Linked DNA regions of Homo sapiens: region 1 is linked to region 2. Evidence: promoter capture Hi-C in human tissues and cell types (Jung and others, 2019). All regions are on one chromosome and are shown on one strand. The core of a region is centred on a gene start or on the middle of the fragment in contact, and the rest is flanking DNA. Distances in the headings are between cores, read along the strand shown.

What was found. The method cuts DNA at HindIII sites, captures the fragments that hold promoters and counts their contacts. A contact is called where the count stands out against the background at its distance.
Region 1: a fragment that was not itself captured here is called in contact with the fragment with the promoter of TACR2 in region 2 in 1 of the 25 tissues and cell types used here (lymphoblastoid cells).

What each region holds. Positions count from the first base shown.
Region 1 is chr10:69,208,342-69,214,988 of GRCh38, forward strand. SUPV3L1 (Suv3 like RNA helicase) reads left to right here. Exons shown (of 15, transcript NM_003171.5): 15 at 259-752. The coding sequence ends at 694. Among named protein-coding and RNA genes, the nearest start is that of HKDC1, 8.7 kb to the right of the region's middle. The HindIII fragment of the contact is 5,430 bases long and covers 2,210-6,647 here.
Region 2 is chr10:69,413,618-69,419,847 of GRCh38, forward strand. It overlaps TACR2 (tachykinin receptor 2), which reads right to left and starts at 3,301. Exons shown (of 5, transcript NM_001057.3): 1 at 2,315-3,301; 2 at 1,328-1,522. The coding sequence starts at 2,706. RefSeq lists enhancers at 3,071-3,805, 4,556-4,850. The HindIII fragment of the contact is 13,628 bases long and covers 1-6,230 here.

The sequences.
Region 1 (6,647 bases), core at 3,675-6,174, 200 kb before region 2:
AGTGATTCTCAAAGGAGGGGCATGTCCCTCTCCAGGAGTATATCAGAGTCTATTGAGGTATAGTGCTGACCCACCCTCAGGATGACATATTCCTCCGATATGTGGGGGCAGAAATCAAGGTTGAGCAAAGGCACTGAAGAGAGTTTGCAAAAAGAACATTTAGAATTTATCAATGTCATGATGTAGGTGTGCCATTGAGAGTTGTCCAGTGACTGCGATAAGAGCTGTTGCTATAATGCTAATGTGTCTTTTTCCCAGCTACCGATTTATGGATATGTTTCCAGATGCCAGCCTTATTCGAGATCTCCAGAAAGAACTAGATGGTATTATCCAAGATGGTGTGCACAATATCACTAAATTGATTAAAATGTCTGAGACGCATAAGCTGTTGAATTTGGAGGGCTTTCCATCAGGGAGCCAGTCACGATTGTCAGGAACCTTAAAGAGCCAAGCTAGAAGGACACGCGGCACCAAAGCTCTAGGGAGTAAAGCTACTGAGCCACCCAGCCCCGATGCAGGAGAGCTGTCCCTTGCTTCCAGATTGGTGCAGCAAGGACTCCTCACTCCAGACATGCTGAAACAGCTAGAAAAAGAGTGGATGACACAACAAACTGAACACAACAAAGAAAAAACAGAGTCTGGGACTCATCCAAAAGGGACGAGAAGAAAGAAGAAGGAACCTGATTCGGACTAGTTTTCTGTTCCTGTTTTTTTTTTTTTATTTAATTTTGCAAATAAAAATTTATTTTGAATCCTTTTTCCTCATATGCATTTACTCCCTCCTCTAGTATTGTGGCTATCTGGTACTGGGGGATTTTTGGTGTGTGTGTGTGTTTGTGTGTGTGTTTGTTTGTTTTTTCTTTTTTTGCACAGAAAAATCTCTCTTGATGACTAAACTTGTTTTTTTTTTTTTCAACATTTAGAAAATACTAGGATATCATGGAGGTTTAATTTAAGTCTTTATATAATGGCCATTTGTAGAATAGTACTAAGACAGTGCACTATAAGGAACTCTGCATGGGAATAAAATCACTTTGGTGAATTGTTTGACCAGTTTCCTATGCCATGCTGAGGATGTCATGGATGCAGTTCTTTGACAAACATTGCTGTCTGTTGTACCCATATACCAGAGGCTATTTAGGTGCTGGAAATATGCAGTAAGCAAGACTGACAATCTTCTACCCTCATGGATCTCATATTTGGTAGGAGAGACAGGAACAGGTTAACAAATAAATCCTGTCAGATCGGTGAGGGCAGAGATTGTAGTCTATTTCACTACTGCATCCACAGTATCTGGAATATAGCAGAAGCAAAATCATTCTTTGTGAGATGAATGGGTGTAATTTTAGAGATGAATGCTAGAAAGAATAAGGAAAGAGTGATGCTGAGTGGCAGGGAAGGGCTGTTTTAGGTAGGGTGGTCTTCCCTTGTCCAAAGGCCAGCCTACACTTGTTCAACGAAGTTTTCAACCCTGTTCAGAAACCTAGCTAAAAGGGGTTTAAAGATGGAAGCTTTGGAGTTAGACAGATGTGGTTCCTTTTCATATCACAGCTTAGCAGCCTTGCCATCTCTGGGCTTGATCTCACATCTGAAGAAAATGGTCAGTATGCTCACTTAGAGTTGTTTGGGAGGTTAAGTGTGATCACGTGCCATTTAGCACAGGGCCTGGCACACAGGAAGCATTTTATTATATAAATGAACCTGAAGGTTTGGGTCCAGTCTGGGCTGTGAATTGAGCTCTCAGATTATTCTGACAACTGAACTAATTTCTTGAGCAACTATTGAATTGGGGCTGACCTCCTGGTAGGGATTAAATATGATTTGACTCAAATTGGGTGAGGGAACGTAGCCAGATCTGCAACCTCTCTCTGCTTTTTTCTTTGGTGGTTCAGAGGTAACATTTAACTGAGATGACAATCTTCATTCTGACCTTTGCCTTCATGGGAGTAAAGGCTGAGTGGGTGGCACTGACTCTATTTCCTCCTTGCTTATGGATAAACTAGTGAAATGCCTGGAAGGGCTTATCTCTTGATATTCTGCAGTGGGGCAACTGCAGCTTCTAGAATTTGCTTACCCCTGTAACTTACACCATAGCAGACATAATCATTCTTGTCCAGATGGTTACAAGAAATACCTATGAACTGAACCAAATAGTGGATTTGGTCCCATCGTATGTAAGTGATGGGGTGCATCACTTAGAATGCTGTTAACTCTCCCATTTTCTCCAGTTTGGGGGCCAGAGTTGTTAAGTCAGAGAAAGGACTTAGGCAAGACACTTAAAAACTAAGGCAAGTGAAAAGTCCTGAATATGTTAAATAAAGAAGTGGCTGGGTGCAGTGGCTCATACCTGTAATCCCAGCACTTTGAGAGACCAAGGCAGGAAGATTGCTTGAGGCCAGGAGTTTGAGACCAGCTTGGGCAACACAGTGAGACCCCATCTCTACAAAAAATTTAAAAAATTAGCCGGATATGGTGGCATTCACCAGTAGTACAGCTCCTTGGGAGGCTCTGGTGGAAGGATCACTTGAGCCCAGCGTGTTGAAGCTGCAGTGAGCAGTGATCATGCCACTGCATTCCAGCTTGGACAACAGAGCGAGACCCTGTCTCTAAATAAGTAAATAAATAAAGCCTCAAATAAGAGAGGTGGGGGTGGGAGGTCCTGTAAAGGAAGGGCTGCTTGAACATTCAGCTAACGAGCATTTATAGTGATAGTTTGCCCTTTCACGTCTCCTTCCTTTGGAGGGAAAGGAGGGAACTGTGGTTAGAAGAAGAGACAGACTAAAGAAAAGATGGCAGCATGTGAAGCAAAACAGGAAAAATAGAATTGGAGTGGCCCTGGAGAATTATCTTCAGTGTACCTAAAATTGTCACCAAGAAAGCAGCCTAGTCTTCCTTCTCTGCAACAAGCTTGTCATGTCACTTATCTTTCTTTGTGGGCTTCAGGGCCAGCTAAATTCCAGGCATTCATTTCCATTTCACTATGGTCATGTCACTCTTTGTGAGAGACAGCTCTTTCCTGTCCTTGCAGTCTTCTCACGGATTGTGAAGTACTCACCTGAGAGCCCTCCGTGGATTATTATGGATTCCACTGAACTTAAACATGGGATGTGGACTAAGGCTTAGAGACTAATCTCAACCTATCACTATACAGACCTGATAATTTAATAAAATGTGATTAGAAAATGACTGGGAATAATATCCAGTGACTTGTAATGTTTTGTATGTTACATATATGGAAGAGTGTAAATCTGCAAAATGAAACTCTTGAAAAGTGACTGTAAATCACAAATATATAAAACTATCATCACAAATTAGAGTCTCTTATGACTCAAAACTGGGAGTCTGTAATTATGATGCAGTCATTCTGTGTGTGTCTAACTCAAACCTATTAGGATGTAATGAAAAGTAGAGATTTGCTATGGGACAGGCAAATGGATAAGGGAGTCATGCTGAGATTTCCCTCCCCTGTTTCACAGCTTTAAAATACATAAACCTGGCTGGGTGCAGTGGCTCACGCCTGTAATCCCAACATTTTGGGAGGCTGAGACGGACAGATCGCTTGAGCTCAGAAGTTCAAGACCAGCCTGTGCAACATGGCAAAACCCTGTCTCTACAAAAAAAGCAAAAATTAGCCCGGCATGTTGATGTGCGCCTGTAGTCCCAGCTACCTGAGAGGCTGAGGTGGGAGGATCACTTGAGCCCAGGAGGCGGAGGTTGCAGTGAGCTGAGATGGCACCACTGCACTCCAGCCTGGGTGACAGTACCAGACCCTGTCTCAAAAAAATAGATAAACCTCCACCTATAGTATCTCTAGATAAAGTAATTTTTAAGTTTTCTTCTGTTTCTTACGTTATTCTAATTCCTTTTTTTTTTCCCAGCTTGGTTTGATTTCTACCTTTATTGTTGGAAACTTGTCTCATGTGTCTAGCGATCCTTGCCTGTGTCTATGTTTAAAAGTGAAGAAATAAGCTAATGGAGAGCTCTGTTTATAGGCCTAATGTCTTTTCAGTTTTTATGCAGGTTGATTGGATGATAAGCTGGCTTTTTAAATGATTCCCTAAATGTCAGTATCTGTAAGGTTTATTTTACTTTATTTTATTTTTTGAGTCAGAGTCTCATTCTGTTGCCCAGGCTGGAGTGCTGTGGCATGAACTCTGGTCATACAACCTCTGCCACCCAAGGCCAGGTGCAGTGGCTCACGCCTGTAATCCCAGCACTTTGGGAGGCCAGTGGGGTGGGAGGGAGTGAATCATGAGGTCAGGAGTTCTAGACCAGCCTGGCCAATATGGTGAAACCCAGTCTCTACTAAAAATATAAAAATTAGCTGGGCATGGTGGCGCGTGCCTGTAGTCCCAGCTGCTCAGGAGGCTGAGGCAGGAGAATCCCTTGAACCCAGGAGGCGGAGGTTGCAGTGAGCCGAGATTGTGCCACTGCACTCCAGCCTGGGCGACAGAGTGAGACTCCATCTCAAAAAACAAACAAATATACAAATAAACAGAAAACAACCTCTGCTTCCCAAGTTCAAGCAATTCTCCTGCCTCAGCCTCCTGAGTAGCTGGGATTACAGGCGTGCACCACCACACCCAGCTAATTTTTGTATTTTTAATAGAGACTGGGTCTCACCATGTTGGCCAGGCTGGTCTCGAACTCCTGACCTCAGGTGATCCCAAAGTGCTAGCATGAGCCAACATGCCAGGCAGTATCTGTAAGGTTTTTTGTTTGTTTGTTTTTGAGATGGAGTTTTGCTCTTGTTGCCCATGCTAGAGTGCAATGGTGTGATCTCAGCTCACTGCAACCTCCGCCTCCTGGGTTCAAGCAATTCTCCTGCCTCAGCCTCCAGAGTAGCTGGGACTACAGGTGCACACCACCACAGCCAGCTAATTTTTGTATTTTTATTAGAGATGAGGTTTCGCCACGTTAGCCAGGCTGGTCTCAAACTTCTGACCTCAGGAGGTCCACCCAGCTTGGCCTCCCAAAGTGCTGGGATTACAGGCGTGAGCCACCACGCCTGGCCTGTAAGGTTTTTTAAACATAAACTTAAAAAAAAAAAGTTAGGATAGTTTTAGATTTGCAGAAAAATTGCAAAGATAATACAAAGAATTCCCATATACCCAACACATTTCCCCTATTAACATCTTACATTTCCCCCATTAACATCTTACATTAGTATGGTACGTTTGTTATAATTAATGAACCAAGACTGATACATTATTATTAACTAAAGGCCACAGGTTTTTAGATCTCCTTAGTTTTTACCCAGTGGCCTTCTTCTCTTTTGGATCCCATCCAAGACACCACATGACATTTAGTCGTCTCCTTAAGCTCCTCTTGGCTGTGACAGTTTCTCAGACTTGCTGTAGATGATCTCAACAGCTTTAAGTACTAATCACGTATTCTATAGACTATTCATCAGTTGGGATTTGTCTGATGTTTTTCTTATGATTAGACTAGGGTTTGGGTTTTGGGAGAAAGAGCCCAGAGGTAAGGTGCTGGTCTTATCACCTCATATCACGGATCTGTACTGTCAACATGACTTCACCCTGCTGAAGTTGACCTTCATCACATGCCTGAGGACAACGTGTCAGGTTTCTTCACTGTCATGTTACCCTTTTCTCATTTTCCATACTGAACTGTCTGGAAAGAATCACTGTGTATACTGTGCTCCACCTCTTTGAGGGTGGAGTATCTGTGTTCATTCTTCTGCATGGGAGATTGGTCCTTTCTCCCTCACTTATATATTTATACAATTATTTGTTAACATCAGTATGGGCTAATGGAAATGTAGACTTTGGGTTATAATCCAATCATACTTTATCTTGCCCAATTTTTTCTTTCTTTCTTTTTTTTAACACTCCTATCAATGTTTTCTAGCTTTGGTTATTAGGAACTTTTTCACTTTCAGTTGGCTCCTGTGTTCCTTTGACACATCCGTATCATTTGGTTTTTGTTTTGTTGATTAGTTCCTTCCTTTCTGGCACTACAAGATGCGCCAGGACCATCTTGTATAGACCTGGTTCTTTGATCTGGGCACTAGGTGTGCTTGTTGCTACTGGGTGTCATTACTTCTAGTGTTTCTCAGCTGACAAAGCAAGGACATATGCACGTGTATACTAAGCTATATACACGTCTTCAAATCTTTATATAAACATATATGTATAGTCATCTATATGAATATCAAGCTAAACATGAGTGTATACTGATGTCCTCAATTCTAATCCAGTGACATGGATCATTCTAGCCTTCTCCCCTGCTTGAAGCCTCTCACTCCAGCAGCAAGAAACCTCCCTCCCGCCATCCACCATCCATGTACTTAATTGTTCAATTCCAGTATTCTTGTGTAGTGGTTTCAGAATTGTTAAGCGTGCTCTTGCAGGAAGCAACTTTATCAATCAGAATACAGTGCTACATACACTTCCTTTTACTTGTAGTCTTACTCTATTAATTTCCAAAGTTTCTTAGGTCAGCATATTTTCCCTCCCCTTCCCCTTCAGTGAGGCTATTTCACACACTTGCAACACAGTTAGACTCATGTCACAGTCTGTGTTGCGTCGCTGACCTCCTAAATGTTTTTTTGAATGTATGTACATTAAAGTTCATTCTTTGTGCTGTCAAATTCTATGGGTTTTGAAAGTGTGTCATGTATTTGC
Region 2 (6,230 bases), core at 2,051-4,550:
ATGGCACCTTCCCTATCCCTGAAGCCCACAAGAGCAGCCTTCTCCTGGCAGGTGCTCAGGACAGATGGAGACCAGGCAGGGAGGATGTTGGAGGAGAGGTGTGTTGCCATGGCTACCTGGCAGCCCTCACCTCAGACCATGCACACCCTCATGCTTGGGGCAGCTGGGACTTTGTGGGAAGGATCTGCCACCCCCAGGTGTGTTTTCATGTGTCCCCTATTTAAGCTGCCACATACTGGGTACCAGTTCTGTGCCAGGCATGGTGCTAAGGGCTTCAGGTACACTATCTCATTTATGCTCACAGAGCGAGGTACTATTATGAATCCTCATTTTAGAGAGAGAAAGCCAGAGGTTCAGAGGTTACGTGAGTGTGAGGCATCCTCCGGCCACGTGGGACCAGGCCACGACTTGGGCCTGACTGAGCCCAGAACCCCAGTCGGTTCTTTAGCCTCTACCAAGCAATGGCTCAGTGCCTGGGGACCACAAAGACACATCGTGAGATCCTCAGAAACTGAGGCCGGAATGGAGAAAGGACTCACCCAGGGTCACACAGCAGCTGGGCCATGCCTGAATTCCTCTAACCCTGCCCTCCCTGCCTCCAGCCTGTGATGCCCACCTCAGCAGCCTGAAAATGTCCCAGGCTCCATCATGGACTCGTTCTGCCTCAGTCTCCTGCCGCTTTGTGGCCTGAGCATATAGAGAGTCTCCCCCAGACACACGCCTACACATGTCCCTAACACGTGCCTGTGTGCAAACACATCTACAAATATGCCCACACACTTGCACGTGTACACACAGGCAGAAATGGGTGCCGCATGTTCACGTGACATGTACAGTCACATACACGTGTGCATGCATGCATATCCTTATCTAAGGATGCAAGGGTGCATATTTGAGTAGCAGAGTGGTGAGGAGATTGGGCCCTGGGCAGGATTGCTTAGATTTGAATCCATAGCTGGATTCAAATGACTAGCTGGATTTGAATTACTAGCTGTGTGGTTTTGGGCATGTTACTTAGTTTTTCAGTGCCTCAGTTTCTTCATCTAAAAAATGGTAAGAATAATAATATAATATATATCCCACATAGTTAGGAGAATTAAATGGGTCAATATATGTAAAGTGTGAAAAACAGATCGGCTACATCGTGTGTGTTGCTTACTAAGCATATAGGTATATTCACACAATCCCGTGTACACTCACTCATGTGTACACCCATGCATGCACACCACACATGCATGGACATGGATGCATGCACGCGTGTGTACACACACACACACAGACTCACACACACACACTGTTGCCCTCCACAATCCCCCAGAGGCCTTACAGGAGGAGCGTCTTGCCCCCGCTGTCTTCGGGCCAGGCCACCACGCACTTGGTGGCACCCTGGTCCATGGTGACGGTGGAGTAGAAGCACTGAGGGGAGGCCAGGGCGAGAGCCACCAGCCAGATGCCAGCAATAACCGCCTTGGTGCTGGGAGCTGAAAGCCGAGGCTGGAAGGGGTGGACGATGGCCATGTACCTGTGAGCAGAGGGCAGCTTGAGCGGCAGGGGCCCTCCTGTTAGCCCAGCTCCCTTTCCCCTGTCTCCCTCTCTCCCAACCCAGGCCCACGCCTTCTAGCCATTCCCCGCACTGCTGCCATCTGCTGATATCATAGTATCAGCCGACCTGCAGAGAGCCCGCTGGGTGACTCTCCCACAGCCACACAGCACACTGATGCCTTGGAACCCCGGCCCAGGCACCTCGGCCCACCATTTCCCTCTGGGCATGGACATGCCCGTGGACGGCCACAAGAAAGCCACACTGGAAGCCCATCTCAGGGCAAGATCAAGCATCCAACATTAGCCTGAAGCTCAGCCCTGAGCAGCGTTGGGAAAATAATTGGCCCTATTAGATTGTAACTGCAAGCAAACTTAACATTTTCCCCTCGTGTAATCTATCCGGAATAATAAAAAAAAAACTGTATAAGACATATCTTTGGAGTGAAATAAAGACAACAAAACAAAGATCAACTCCAGGAAAGAACACTTCAGAAGGTCGCTAAAACATTGCCCACTTCCCCTACAGACTTGAACAACCTGTCTAGTGCATCTAGTGCAAAGTCCTTCTCTGTGTCTAACCCTCAGTCTACCTTCTTCAGCTCCACAGTCCCCCTGCCTTCCAGATTCATAGTTTTGGACCATGACCAGATTTGGGAAGCCATTCCCATGGTTCTACCCAAACTTGCTGTGTAATCACAGGCATGTCACCACCCTTATCTGAGCCCCGGCTCAGTGGGGAGGCTCCCCCCAGCTTCCCCAAGGACCCTCTTGCCTGTCGGCAGCAATGGCGGTCATGGAGTAGATGCTGACAAACATGGCTGTGATGGGGAAGAGGTTCTGGAAGTAGCAGAAGGCACGGCCAAAGTACCAGATGTTGTGGCTGGCATAGACAAAGTTGAAGGCGGCATTGAAGGCAGCCATGCAGAGGTCAGCCAGCGCCAGATTGACGATGAAGTAGTTGGTGACTGTGCGCATCCTCCGATGGGCCAGGATGATCCAGATGACGATGGCATTACCCGTCACGGCCACCAGCACCAGGGCCAGGTAGGCTGTGGCCCACAGTGCCAGTTGCCAGCTGGGCATGGAGAAGGCTGTGATGCCCGTGGTGTTGCTCTCAGGGCCAGATGAGATATTGGCTTCAGTCACAATGTCACAGGTCCCCATGGCTGCTTCTGGGTCTGGAACAAAGGACCTGGCTCCTCGGCTCCTCTCGGATTTGCTATGAAAGAGAACTCCCCTTCAGAGCATGGGAATATGGGGGCAGGGAGAGGAGCAGATGCCAAGCGTGGTGGCACATCAGGAGAGCCTGGGGCCACTCCTAGGTCTCAGGCAAAGATGAGCTGGGCTGAGCACAAAGCCCAGTCCAGAACCATTGTCATTTCAGATTCCATCCTTCCGGCCAGACTTCTCGAATATCATGTGGAAACACAGAATTCAAATCACAGTGTCAGAGCAGAAAACACCCTTATAAATCAACCCCTTCGCTGAAGAGATGGAAGACAGAGATTCCAAGAGGGGACGGGACCAGCCCAGGTCACTCAGGAAGTTGGTGACAAGTTAGGACTCGAACCCAGGTTTCTCGTCACGTAATTCAGGAAACCTTCCAGATCAGAGGAATGCACAGCGGGAGTCTCTGGAGTCCACAGGTCAATGGCGCAGCAGCCTCTCTCCAGGCTTTGGGCTGCAAGCCGGGCTGGGTGCTGGGTGCTCAGGGCTCTGCCAGCTGCCAGCCCTCGCTGCAGCTTCCCTGCCGTTCTCTGGGGCAGGGCCAGTGGGGGCCTTGGCAGAGGTGCTGCCTGCTCACGAGGGGGGGCTTTGGCTCCCGCCCCTGGTCCCACCCCCTGCTTGGCCTTGTCTCTTGAAAGATTTAGGACTGGCTGCAGAGGCAGGGAGAGACTTGGGGGAGATGGGGCTGGTACAGAGGGCCCAGCTCTCGGCGGATGTTGACTTTCAGCCCAGGACAGGAGCTACGTCTGAAGAGTGATTCTGAATACAGAAGGAGTTCGAGCCTGGTTTGGTGACTCCAGGCAAGTCTCTTAACCTTTCTGAGCTCTGTCTACCCCATCTGAAAAATATAGAAAAATGGTGTGCATCTTACAGTACATTTGTGAATTTTAAATGGAGATAATGTGCACAAAGTCTACTTAGCACAGGGGTTGGTACATAAAAACTATGATTGGAGTTTCTGGCCCGAAGGGAGGACCCCACAGCTCTGGGCGCTCTAGGAGGAGAAGCCAGAACCCGGAGCGTTTCCAGCGAGTTCCCAGGTGATACTGATGCTGCTGGAGCCAGCACTTCACTTTGAGAACCACTGTCTTAGGACAAAGTCAGGGCTCTTCCGGGAACCACAGCAAAGCTGGAGTTTTAACTCCTGAGAAGCTGCTCTAGGTTTGCCCCAAGATCCCTGCTCCTGGTCATTGACTGTGTGCACGTGTGTGAAGCAGTGAAGATGTTTCTGAGCAACTGTATGTGCGGCTGACGTGTTAAGCTCACACACACGCATGAACCTGTGCACACCTGTGGTGTGTGGACCATGAAGGCAGGGCAGGATTAGCGGGAGTCGGGGGGGCATGTTCTTCATTAAAGCAGAGGAGGCTTCTCATTCACCAGCAACCCACGGCACAGCAGCCTCTGTGCTCCCAGGGCTCTGCCTTGCACCGCCTGGGTTTCTCGTGGCTGGGCCTCGGCCCCCACACTCCCAGTCCATTTTCTGCTTCTCCCTGTGTGTCACTTTCCTGACACCCAGCCCTTGTCTCCCGGGGTGAGCTGAGAAAGACCTTTAAAGGTCTCTAGTGCTGAAAAGATTATGCCACCCATGGAATCCAATATAAAAACAACACTAAACCATAAGTCATGAAACTTAAACATGCTGAAATTGAAAGAGCTTCTTTATGGATTTTTCTGATTATGAACTTCTGGGTAAGTTCATCGACAATCAACACTGAAATTGTATCTATTGTTTGGTCTCCCTGCTGTGCAGATGTGAGGAGCATGTGCTGGGTCGAATGGGAACCCCATCCTTGCCCTTGGGGAGGGAGTGCTTCCTGGGCCCCTACTCCTCCCGTGGGTGTGTGCCTGTGTGCCTGTTTCCTCTCTGGAGTGGCCTGTTTGGACTTTGGACCCTAGCAGAAGGGTCTCTGCCTTTGATCTCTGTTGGTGGCGGCAACAGTAGCAGTACTTTAGGGTTTGCTTCTGTCTCATGCCCATCTGGCCAGGGTCCTAAAGAGCAGAATGTGTAGAAATAAGAATGGAAGCCCAAGACAGCCTGCTCTTTTTGCTGTCCTCCTGCTCCCAGGCAGTGGGAATTTGTTGAGCTTCAGGTGCAAACCCAGTGCAGGGCTGGGATGCCTGAGCGCCTGTCACCAGTCACAGAAGCCCAGCAGAGTTCAAGTTCCTTCCTCCCCACAACATCCCGCCACCTCCACTGTTTATGTAAAGGGGATTATGTTTTGGAGCTTGTACATCTGAGTTTTTATTTTCCCCTTAAATTATCTGCTCTTGCAGCCTTCCAACTATGTGCTATGGTTTGAAGCCTCGTGAAAGGGGAAGATGCGGGCCACCCAGGATGAAGGGGTTCCTGATCAGCTTTGCTGCTTGGCACTGGCCTTCTGAGTCCATAGCTAGACAGCGATCCCGAAGGCCAGTCCTTATTTTATTTTATTATTTTAGATGGAGTCTCACAGTGTCGCCCAGGCTGGAGTGCAATGGCACGATCTTGGCTCACTGCAACCTCCGCCTCCTGGGTTCAAGCGATTCTCCTGCCTCAGCCTCCTAAGTAGCTGGGATTACAGGTGTATGCCACCACACCTGGCTAATTTTTGTATTTTTTTAGTAGACAGGGTTTCACCATGTTGGTCAGGGTGGTCTTGAACTCCTGACCTCAGGTGATCCACCTGCCTCAGCCTCCCAAAGTGCTGGGATTACAGGCATGAGCCACTGCGCCTGGAAGGCCAGTCCTTTTAAAGGAGAAAAAAAAATGCCGGGCACGGTGGCTCACACCTGTAATCGCACACCTGAGCTGATGGTGCCAGTTGCGTGCATCCAGGAAGCAGACCCTGCTGTGTAAGAAACACACCAGCTGTTTCTCAGGGAGCTACCACTGGGGTCAACACTTGGGGCAGCAGACAAGGCAGGAAGCAAGTGTGGCTGAAGCACGGCATCGTGCTGTGGTCCAGGCCTACAATAGCCTTGGTAACCCCATGGGTAATTGGAACTGGGATAGCTTCAGAGTTGCCCCGTGTGGGGCAAAGTTAACCAGGCCTTTATATTTCCACATTGGTCACTGGACGTGGGCCACCCCAAGAAATCATGTGATTGTTGTCAAGGCAGTTGAGGCGAGGCCTGCAGTCGGGGACGCTAAACATGGTGCTGGTACTATATGCCTGCCCGGCAGCTTGAAGGGGGCCTGGGAAGCGCAGGGCAACGTCCACACAGCTAGACAGCAGCCACTCCTTCAGACGGGCGTGCGCTGGCAACTGTGCCTTGCTGGTTGGTGTAATTGTGACCTCTGGGCTAGAGGCTTAAAGACCAGAGTTGGGAGAGGAATGATCTTCCAGGGAGTTTGAGGAAGAAAAGGTGGGAGAGCTGTGGTGTGTGAGAGAAGTGGGTGGGAGAGGAAAGGCGGCTCCAGAAAGCACTGTGGATGAGGCGTTGCTATCAGCGCCTGGGGGATGCTCTTGAGAGTGGCC